Regions from separate parts of the Homo sapiens genome. Here regions 1 and 2 are each linked to region 3. Evidence: promoter capture Hi-C in 16 types of primary human blood cells and fetal thymus (Javierre and others, 2016). All regions are on one chromosome and are shown on one strand. Each heading gives the region's core, a stretch centred on a gene start or on the middle of the fragment in contact. The rest is flanking DNA. Distances are from core to core; before and after follow the strand shown. Region 1 overlaps LOC105369750 (a long non-coding RNA gene). Region 2 has its middle 13 kb from the start of VDR. Region 3 holds the start of LALBA (lactalbumin alpha).

Evidence for each region. The method cuts DNA at HindIII sites, captures the fragments that hold promoters and counts their contacts. A CHiCAGO score of 5 or more calls a contact.
Region 1: a contact is called between a fragment that was not itself captured here and the fragment with the promoter of LALBA in region 3, in 5 of 17 cell types (M1 macrophages, erythroblasts, neutrophils and 2 more). The highest score is 8.6, in M1 macrophages.
Region 2: a fragment that was not itself captured here is called in contact with the fragment with the promoter of LALBA in region 3 in 1 of 17 cell types (erythroblasts); the score reaches 5.0 in erythroblasts.

What each region holds. Positions count from the first base shown.
Region 1 is chr12:48,028,092-48,031,292 of GRCh38, forward strand. LOC105369750 (a long non-coding RNA gene) reads left to right here. Exons shown (of 4, transcript XR_944904.3): 3 at 1,680-1,827; 4 at 2,998-3,201. Among named protein-coding and RNA genes, the nearest start is that of COL2A1, 25 kb to the left of the region's middle. The HindIII fragment of the contact is 727 bases long and covers 1,019-1,745 here.
Region 2 is chr12:47,916,728-47,920,219 of GRCh38, forward strand. No RefSeq gene overlaps it. Among named protein-coding and RNA genes, the nearest start is that of VDR, 13 kb to the left of the region's middle. The HindIII fragment of the contact is 4,158 bases long and covers 1-3,492 here.
Region 3 is chr12:48,568,316-48,571,904 of GRCh38, forward strand. LALBA (lactalbumin alpha) reads right to left here and starts at 1,731. Exons shown (of 4, transcript NM_002289.3): 1 at 1,573-1,731; 2 at 767-925; 3 at 202-277. The coding sequence starts at 1,705. The HindIII fragment of the contact is 2,055 bases long and covers 826-2,880 here.

The DNA of each region.
Region 1 (3,201 bases), core at 132-2,631, 540 kb before region 3:
TATTTTGGGGCTCCCCAGACTCTGGGAATTCACTAGAACTCTACCTATTGATACTTGGAACTTCTGAAACAGACACATTCCTTCATTCCAGAATTAGTCATAAAAAGGCTGAATGAGGCCGGGCGTGGTGGCTCACGCCTGTAATCCCAGCACTTTGGGAAGCTGAGGCAAGCAGATCATGAGGTCAAGAGATGGAGACCATCCTGGGCAACATGGTGAAACCCCGTCTCTACTAAAAATACAAAAATTAGCTGGGCGTGGTGACGTGTGCCTGTAGTCCCAGGTACTCAGGAGGCTGAGGCAGGAGAATTGCTTGAACCCGGGAGGCAGAGGTTGCGGTGAGCCGAGATCGCGCCACTGCACTCCAGCCTGGTGACAGAGCGAGACTCCACCTCAAAAGAAAAAAAAAAAAGGCCGAATGCCTGTGGAGGCTAAGGCAGCACACTGAAACTCACTCCTGAAGGGTCATTAGAATGATTGTCTGGTATCTGGAATTCCCTGGCCTGTCAAGGATGATGGGGGCTGCCCTGAGCTGGGGAACATGCTCGGCTGAGGGAGGTGGAGGACAGTGGCAGGCCTGTGTGCACTCCCAGCGTTGCCTCAGTGAGCTGTTTGCCTTCACTGGGCAGGGACCCACAAGGGTCATGTATTTTTGTCATGCCTGACGGGGAATGCACATGATTTATGAAGTTTTTTTTAACCTGAGGCTTCCTCATAAAAGAGCTTTGAGAAGACTGCAGCCAATCTGGTTATGAAAGGCCTTCCTTTCTGGGATCTGTTAGACAAGATATTGTTGACTGCCTGCCCTCAAGAATGAGGGACCACGTGTGCTCCACCCTAGGTCTGGAATGGCCCAAGACCCCAGGAAAACTGCACGTGGATTTGTACCTTGTTCTCCTATCCCATCTCAGGCTTCTTGCCCTCTACACCCTCTTAGCTGACATTTCTACCCCCAAGAAACCTGCCCCAAGAGATCTCTGAGTCCCTGATCCCTTATGCCCTTGACATCAAAGGTCCAAGCTTCCCTGGACAAGTCACTTGACCTCACTAAGTCTCTTTTCTCATCTGCAAAATGAGCATAAAAATATCCACCTTGAAATCTTCATAGTAAGGGATTCAATCAATGTCTCACCAGCTGGAAAGCTCTCTGAGCTCTCTCTCTCTCCATGTGTCATTTAATCTTGTCTCCCTAGCACCTAACAGAGTGCCAGGCACATAGAGGCCAATACTAAGTGGCAACTTGTAGAAATGACTTCTACTGAATTCAGTGAATTCAGTGATGAGGAATAAGTAAAATGTGTTTGTAAATTGCAAGCACAGTGCCTGGCACTTGGTAAGCATTTAGAAAATTTGGGTTACGCCTGCATTTGAATCTGACTCTCCCCTACAGATGCCGGACCCAAGACTCTGGCCCCAGTGGTGAGGCAGGGACCCCAAGGTTCCAGCCATCTCCTCCTGGCCTGACTGGGGCTGCAGGGGACCTGTGTCAGTCTCCCTCCTTGGCGCCCCCTCCCCCATCCCAGACCCCTGGCCTCTTGATATCCCGGCAGCAGCCCCCACAGCCCCTCTGGGGTGGTGGGCGTCCCTGTGTCGGCACAGCTAGGCTGGGCCCCTCTCCAGGGAAGGGGCTGAAGGGTGTGAAGGACTGGTGTGTATGACTTTGTTTATTTTCTCTGAAGAATCCTGCCTGAGCCCTGCTATAAAAATAACCTGCCTGGAAACCTCATCTCCAAGGGGTAGAAAGAAGCTTTTGTATCCAGGGAAGCTGCTCTAACTGCCTCCCTGTACCTTCGCCTCAGCCCATGCATCAAGGAGGAGCCAGCCAAGGTGATGAGGGGCCAGGGCAAGGGAGAGGGATGTGTGGGGAGGGAGGAGGGGACGGAAGGGCAGCTCAGCAGCCTCTTGCCCTGAGCACGGCAGAAGCCTCTCACTTGTCTGCTCGACCCAGGAAGATCCAAAGGAGGAACTGAGGGAGAGAGAGGGAAAGAGGAAGTCAACAAGAGAAAAAAACACTGGATGTTGAGAGAGACAAGGAGGCCAGGAGACAGAAGATCAAATCCAGGACAGAGGAGGGGCATGGGGAGAGTGGGGAGGAGAGTGAAGTCAAAGGAGAAAGAAAACCAAGAGACGTGTATGCAGAGACACAGAGCTCAAGGGATCAGAAAGAGGCTGTGGCCATGTTTACAGACGTAGCTTAGCATGTGGTCCCCACCACCAAGGGAGAAAGCAGGCACAGCCAGGCTGTCCCTGCCACCTGCTGGGTTCCTGCTCTGCTGCACAGCCCAGCTTCCACTCTGGCTCAGGCTGTGGCAGAAAAGACAAAGGTCCCCCGAGCACCCACTATGGCCAGGCCCTGGGTGAGGCATGAGACCAAGCCCCACTAAGGCTTCTCAAAGTGTTCCTTCCCAGGAGCCAGGCCTGATGGCACGGAGCAAGTCTGCACTGTCACCAAATTCAGGAGGCCTGGATTCAAGTCCCAGTTCTCCTGCTTTTTAGCTGGGTGATCTTGTACAAACCACTTAGAATTTCCCAGCCTGGTTCTCTTATCTGTAAACCATAAATAGTAAACCTCCCTGTCTACCTCCCGGGGCTGTTGAGCAGATCTATGGAAGCATATCTGAACAGGTTCTCCAAGTTGTATGGTGCCAGCAAGACAAGAGGGAATGACCCATTCCTTTAGCCATATTTCTCTAGGTAGCCATCTTAGGATCATGGGTGAGCCATACGGAGAATGAACCAACATAGGAAACTCCTATTACCTCTGTTTTCACAGTAGAGGAAACTGAGGCTTAAACAGGTTAGTAACATGCTCACCATCGTGTATTAATAGCTCTTAGGCAACAGAACATGAATCCAGGTCTCTATATTCAGAGTCTGTGTAGACCCAGAGTGCTGGGCCTTCTCTCCAATCTAATGGCAGAGGCTGCCCAAGAATGACCTGGGACAGTCTGCTCCACTTCCTTTAAGGATGAATTAATTTCCAATTGTTCTATGCAGGCCAGACCTATCTCTCCTTGGAGACTGCACAAGCAGGTGAGCATTAAAGGAAGGCGGGAGGCCAATTTTTGCCCAGCATTAGGAAGAACATTGCTATTGTTCCAGCAATGAAGTGAGCTGCCTGAGAGAGTCCGAGCTCTCTGTGGCTGCGAGGCCAGCAGGCCAGGACTTGCAGAGACCACTGGTGCCTATAGGAGGCACATG
Region 2 (3,492 bases), core at 528-3,027, 650 kb before region 3:
TCCAGGGCAGCTGCTCTCCACCTGGGCCTCAGTGTTGTAGCCTAGTCTGAACTGCTGGCACTTGCATGTCAACATGTATTTCCCCAATCCCTGTGGAAAGGGAAAGAGCATGGAAGATCGCATGCTGCAGTGAAAGCATTTAATTGTATGTATTTAATTGATCAGAGTAAGTCACTTAGCCATAACTAACTTCAGGGGTCAGTGAGTAACCCTTTCATAGGTCCAGGAAGGGAGAACTGGAAATACTGATGAACATCACAATAGTCAATAATAAAGAGTCCAGGAAAAACCTTTTCCAACCAGAAATTTTAAATGTATTTCTGAAGAATAAACCATAGACTAAAAGAGAAAATATTCAGAACATAATAATAACAATGCTGTATATTGAAATTTATGGATGCAACTAAAATTGTACTTAGAGGGATGTGTATAATACTAATACTTGCTTAGCATTTACTATGTGGTGGACATTGTTTTATGTACTCTACATGTGTTACTCATTTAAGTTTTCTGTTTTGAAATGGGGTCTCGCTCTGTTACCTGGGCTGGAGTGCAGTGATCATAGCTCATAGCAACCTCAACCTTCCAGGCTCAAATAATCTTCCCACCTCAGCCTCTACAGTCATGTGCCACCATACCTGGCTAATTTTTGTATTTTTGTAGGGACAGAGTTTCGCCATGTTGCCCAGGCTGGTCTTCAGCTTCTGAGCTCAAGTGATCCACCCACCTAAGCCTCCAAAAGTGCTGGGACCACTGGCATGAGCCACCGCACCCAGCCTTAATTTTCATAACAACCCTTGAGGCAAGTACAAATGAGGAAACTGAAGCGCACACACACAAAAAAACTAACTGAAGTCACACAGCTAGAAGTAGCAGAGCTAGGAATTGGACTCAGGAAATCAGGCTTTAGAGTCCATGTGCTATAGTTGCGAATGTTTACATTAATTTTTTTTAAAGCTCAAAATTAATGTGCTAAGCATCCTATTTAAAAAGTTAGGGCCAGGTGCAGTGGCTCATGCCTATAAACCTAGCACTTTGGGAGGCTGAGGCAGGCAGATCACTTGAGCCCAGGATTTCGAGACCAACCTGGGCAACATGGTGAAACTCCACCTTTACAAAACATACAAAAATTAGCCAGGTGTGGTGGTGCATGCCTGTGGTCCCAGCTACTTGGGAAGCTGAGGTGGGAGGATAACTTGAGCTTGGGAGGTTGAGGCTGCAGTGAGCCAAAATCATGCCACTGCACTACAGCTTGCACAACAGCGTGAGACTCTGTCTCAGAAAAAAAGAAAAAGTTAAAGGGTTGTGCTTGGTGCCTCATACCTGTAATCCCAGCACTTTGGGAGGCAAAAGTGGAAAGATCACTTGAACTCAGGATTTCGAGACCAACCTGGGCAACATAGTTCATGAGTTCATATTAATGTTTTTAACTGTCATCCAGAACTCCAAGGTTCATTCTAGCCTTGTTTTCTTGCTTTTCTGTAACCTCCCTCTCCAATAGTGAAAACTTGCTTCTGCCACCCATGTTTCATAAATCAATATTCATGACAAATAAATAAATATCAGTTAGTGACTGAATGAGTAAATGAGTAGGGGAGATTAGTTAGATAAATCCCCTCTATAAGAGAATTCCAAATAGCTTACATAGATACCACCCACTCAAGGAGGTGAAGCATCATTCCCTACTCATTCAGTGTGGTGTGCATGTTATTATTTCCTTTTACAAGCACAGTATGGAAAAGGGTGAGAAATGTAACTTTACAGTGAGGAGAACTAGCAAACACTACCTCAGCCAGGTGGTCAAGGTGAACATTATTGGTGATAAGTTAATATTAATAGCATATACCTTTGATAGGATATGATGAAAATGACAGTCTACCTCTATGGTCTTCTTCCCTAAAACACATACTTCCTGTGTAACTATGAAACAAAGAGATCAGACAAACCCAAGTCGAAGGACATTCTAAAAAATACCTGACCAGTCCTCCTCAAAACTGTCAAGATCATCAAAAACTTGGGAAGTTTGAGAAACCATCATAGTCTAGAGGAGCCAAAGGAGACATGATGGCTAATGTAATGTGGTGTCCTGGATGGGATCCTAAAACAGGAAAGCCAAAGAAATGCAAATAAACCAGGGACCTCAGAAAATAATCATATAGCAATATTTGGTCATTAGTTGTCACAAATGCACCATCATAATGTAAGATGTTAATAACAGGGGAAACTAGGTGTGAAGTGTATATAAGAACTCTCTTTAATACTCATGCAACTTTTTTTTTTTTAAAAAAAAACAGTGTCTTTCTATGTTGCCCAGGCTGATCTCAAACTCCTGGGCTCACACAGTCCACCTACTTTGGCTTCCCAAAGTGCTGGGATTCCAGGCATGAGCCAGCAGTTGAGGCATGGCCTCAACTTTTCTATAAATCTTAAACTACTCTAAAATGAAAATTTATTGAATGTTTTAAAAGGGGTATTTCTTAAGCGAGAAAGAAAAGGGGTAAACTAAATGACTAACCAATTTGACTATGTCACAGTGGAGAATCTCTGCTATAAAAAGACAATGGCCAGGTGCGGTGGCTCACGCCTATAATCCCAACAGTTTGGGAGGCCGGGGCAGGTGGATCACTTGAAGTCAGGAGTTTGAGACCAGCCTTGCCAACACGGCGAAATCCCATCTTTATTAAAAATACCAAAATAAGCCTGGCATGGTAGCAGGCACCTGTAAATCCCAGATATTCACAAGGCTGAGGCAGGAGAATCGTTTGAACCGGGAGGCAGAGGTTTCAGTGAGCTGAGATCGTGACCGCAACACTGCACTCCAGCCTGGGTGACAGAGTGAGTGAGACTTCGTCTCAAAAAAAAAAAAAAAAAAAAAAGACAACAAAATAGTGAAAAGACAAGCCAAAGAGTGGAACAAGATAATTGCCGCATGGTTAACCAACAACAGATCAATATCAAAGATATATAAAGGATGGCTATGAGACAATCATAAAAATGTAAACTATTACATAGAAAGATGAGCAGAAGATTTGAGTAGGCATTTCACAGTAAAGGAAACACAAATTATCCGTAAACATATGAGGGGAAAAAGTCCTCATTAGTAATCAGGGAAATGCAAATTAAAACCACAATAAGATATCATTTCACATCTCCCAAGTTGAAAGGTCAGTCAACTCAAGTTTTACCAGAGACGTGGGGCAGTTGTAACTCTCATCTGGTGGGTCAGTTGGACCCACCATAAAGAACAGCTGATCTCTACCTAGGGAAGTTTAATGTGCTCAGACCTTATAATCCAGCAATTTCACTCCGAATTATGTACTCCAGAGAAACTGTTGTTCACATGCACCAAGAGACAGGTACAAAACATTCACTTAAAAATTGTTTATAATAGCCAAAAAACTTAAAAATATATTCGTCAATGGAATAATGAATAGATAAATTGTGGCATGTTCCAAAATGGAATACTATATAGCAGTAGAAAATGAAATAACT
Region 3 (3,589 bases), core at 481-2,980:
AACCCCTTATTAGGAAAATTGCTACCAAGGAGCGGAGCGAGAGAGGCTTAATAACAGAAACCTGAGTCTCTAGGTAAGCTTTGTTTCAGACACTGTATTCTAGATTAAATGACCAAGAGATAGGGTAAGAGGAAAGGGGTGCTGGGCTAATGGGGTAAGGAGAAGGAGGATGGGGAAATAGAAAATAGAATAAGGATTCACCAGTAGTCAATTCCTTTAATATCCAGGATCTTCTTGGCACACATTATGTCATCAGTAATGTCATCATCCAGGAACTCTGGCAGGAGTTACAGGGAAAGGATTGAGACAGCTGACAAGTATTACCCAGAAAGGCACTGAGTTCCCCTAACCCCTGGATCCAGTGGGTTCTCTAAACTCAAGGCTTGTGCCTGTTGTCTTTCTATATGAAAGGACCAATGTGGTAATGTCTAACCCTGGGTAGGGACTTCCTTCATTTCCCTGGGATATCTCTGGAGGAATCATCAGCTTCATCAACTGACTTACCCTGAAAATGCAGACAATCAGATTCCAAGACTCTCAGACAGCTCCGATTGTCTACCACTGAACCTCAAGGAACTGTCTGGGGATTTGATGACCATGAAAAATCCAAACAGCTTCTTACTCAGTACTGCCAATTCAAGTCCCACAATTTTTATAGAGCCCAGCCAAGGCAATGAAGCCTGAGGTCTGCTTGGCACTAAAAAGGAGATTATCCCAAGGGCAGGCCTCAGAAAAACAGAGAAAGAGGGTTATAGGGGCTACTCACTGTCACAGGAGATGTCACAGATGTTCCTTGACTGAGGGACCTGGCTGCTCTTGCACCAAAGCTTATTACTGATCTGGAAGAGTCCATATTCCGTGCTTTCATTGTTTTCAACTATGGCTTGTGTGTCATAACCACTGGTGTGAAACATGGTACAGATCACTGAGGGAAAGATGAGAAAGAGATACCACAGAGATGTACAGGATCTGCATAAAGGAGGAACTGTAATTCTCAGACAAAAATGCTTTCCAGCCAATCTCCAAAGATGGCAAAGCTCAGAGTTTCTTGATGAGATGGAGAATTCCAAAAAAAAATCAGACAATAAGAGAAAGAAAGGATAGGAAAATAAATGGGGCCAGGCATGATGGCTCACGCTTGTAATCCCAACACTTTGGGAGGCTGAGGAGGGCGGATCACCTGAGGTCAGAAGTTTGAGACCAGCCTGGCCAACATGGTGAAACCCTGTCTCTACAAAAAATACAAAATTAGCCAGGCATGGTGGTGGGTGCCTGTAATTCCAGCTACTTGGGAGGCTGAGGCAGGAGAATCACTTGAACCGAGGAGGCGGAGGTTGCAGTGAGCCGAGATTACACCATTGCACTCCAGTCTGGGCAACAAGAGCGAAACTCCACCTCAAAAATAAATAAATACATACATATATACATACATGAAATAAAAGAGTATGCAAATGAGCAGAAAAGAGGATGATTAGATAATTAAGTAAAAGTGGAGGGGCGAAGTGGAAGAAAGAGGGGATGGAGGAGAGAAGCGTATGAGGAATGGATGAAACACAGAGGCAGGGAACTCACATTCAGGCAAAGCGATGCCTCCATAACCATCTATGTCTTTCAGCAGCTGGGACAGCTCACATTTTGTGAATTGCTTGGCCAGGATGGCAGGGAACAGGATGCCCACCAGGAACAGAGGGACAAAGAACCTCATTTTGGCTACCCCCAAGAACCTGAAATGGAAGCATCACTCAGTTTCATTTATTTATATTCATGCAGAAAGCCTCAGGGGCTCTGGTACCAAGCCCTACATCTAGGAAGAGAATGAAGAGAGACTGGTCATGCCAAGACAGAAACGCTGAGCCTGCCAGCTTCCTTCCATAATTCACCCTACTTTTCCTTTCCCTCTCCCAGTATCTAGTCCATAGCAGGTATTGTTCTCTGGCCAGAAAGAGTTCAAACCATGATCCTGCTTCCCATTTGGCTTTGTTTAGCCCTTTGTTTCTTGTAGGGTTGGTTCTGGGAAGCACTGTCTCTGGTTACTTGAGGAACAAAGAAGGGCATGGGGGCAATATAAGAAGTGAGGCAATCAGAAAATACAATAAAGTTCTATACCGAGCTTCCCCCTTCCCCCCTAGAGACATGCAGAATGTGGAGAGGGGGTGTATGTCATCACATGCCACAGTCCCAGGATCAGAGCTGGCACTTGTCCAACCAATCCAGCCATGTAACAAGGCCCAGAATTAGTTCTTTAATATGGTAGCTCATGACTGAAGGCTCAGAAATAGGAATAGAATATGGGAACGTAGACTACAACAATCCGATATAACTTGGATCTTAAGACTTCCTACTTAAGGAAAATGCATAATTGAAAAGCCTGTATGAAAGCATCTAGGCCAGGCACAGTGGCTCACACCTGTAATCCCGGCATTTTGGGAGGCCGAGTCTGGTGGATCACTTGAGCCCAGGAGCTCGAGACCAGCCTGGGCAACATGGTAAAATCCCATCTCTACAAAAAAAATTAGCTGGGCATGGTGACATGTGCCTGTAGTCCCAGCTACTTGAGGGGCTGAGGCAGGAGGAACACTTGAGCACAGGAGGTCGAGGCTGCAGTGAGCCATGTTCACTCCACTGCACTCCATCCATCCTGGGAGACAAAGTGAGACCCTATCTTTAAAAAAAAAAAAAAAAAAAAAGAATCTAGCTATCCTACGAGCTATTATCAGATTCCCCACCCCTAACCACTCCTACCGTAAATAACCAAATACTACACTGGCATTGAGACATTACATAAATCTAAGACCAATAACTTGTAGACAACCTCAGAGTTGGCCACAGAAAGTGGGAAGGACCCAAGCCAGTGGAAAGATTGGACTTTAAGGCTGAACAAGCTTATGTCTGGAATCTCTATAAGGTCAGTGCCCCTGAGCAAGTAGAGTTGAGGATACTAGTTCTGAATAGCTCCTTTAATTTGCTGGCATGAAGCTTCATGTCATGGTGACAAGTAGCTCTTAGCTCCTTCATGCCACCATTCGTCTTCTTTGTCCTCATCTCTAAACCTGATTTCTTCTTCTTCTTCCTTTTTTTTTTTTTTTTTTGACCAAGTCTCACTCTGTTGCCCAGGCTGGAATGCAGTGGCGCGATCTTGGCTCACTGCAACCTCTGCCTCCCAGGCTCAAGTGATTCTCCTGCCTCAGCCTCCCGAGTAGCTGGGACTACAGGCACGTGTTACCATGCCCGGTTAATTTATGTATTTTTAGTAGAGACGGAGTTTCTGCATGTTGGCCAGGCTGGTCTCAAACTTCTGAGCTCAGGCAATTTGCCTGCCTGGGCCTCGGCCTCCCAAAGTGCTAGGATTACAGACAGGAGCCGCTGCGCTGTTTCTTATGTTTCAGGGAACATTTATCCCAACCAATCTATTTAAGACTTACATACTGAAGGTCTTCCATATCGTTATCTCCTACATGTATTCAGAGTCAGGGAAAAGTCCTCTCAGTTAAATCCTGTCTTCTGTACCATGGATAACCAGTATATGAAGTGGCATGAGTGAAGGGAATGTGGAGGATCTTGGTGTGCCAGAAGGGATGAGCAGAAAGTT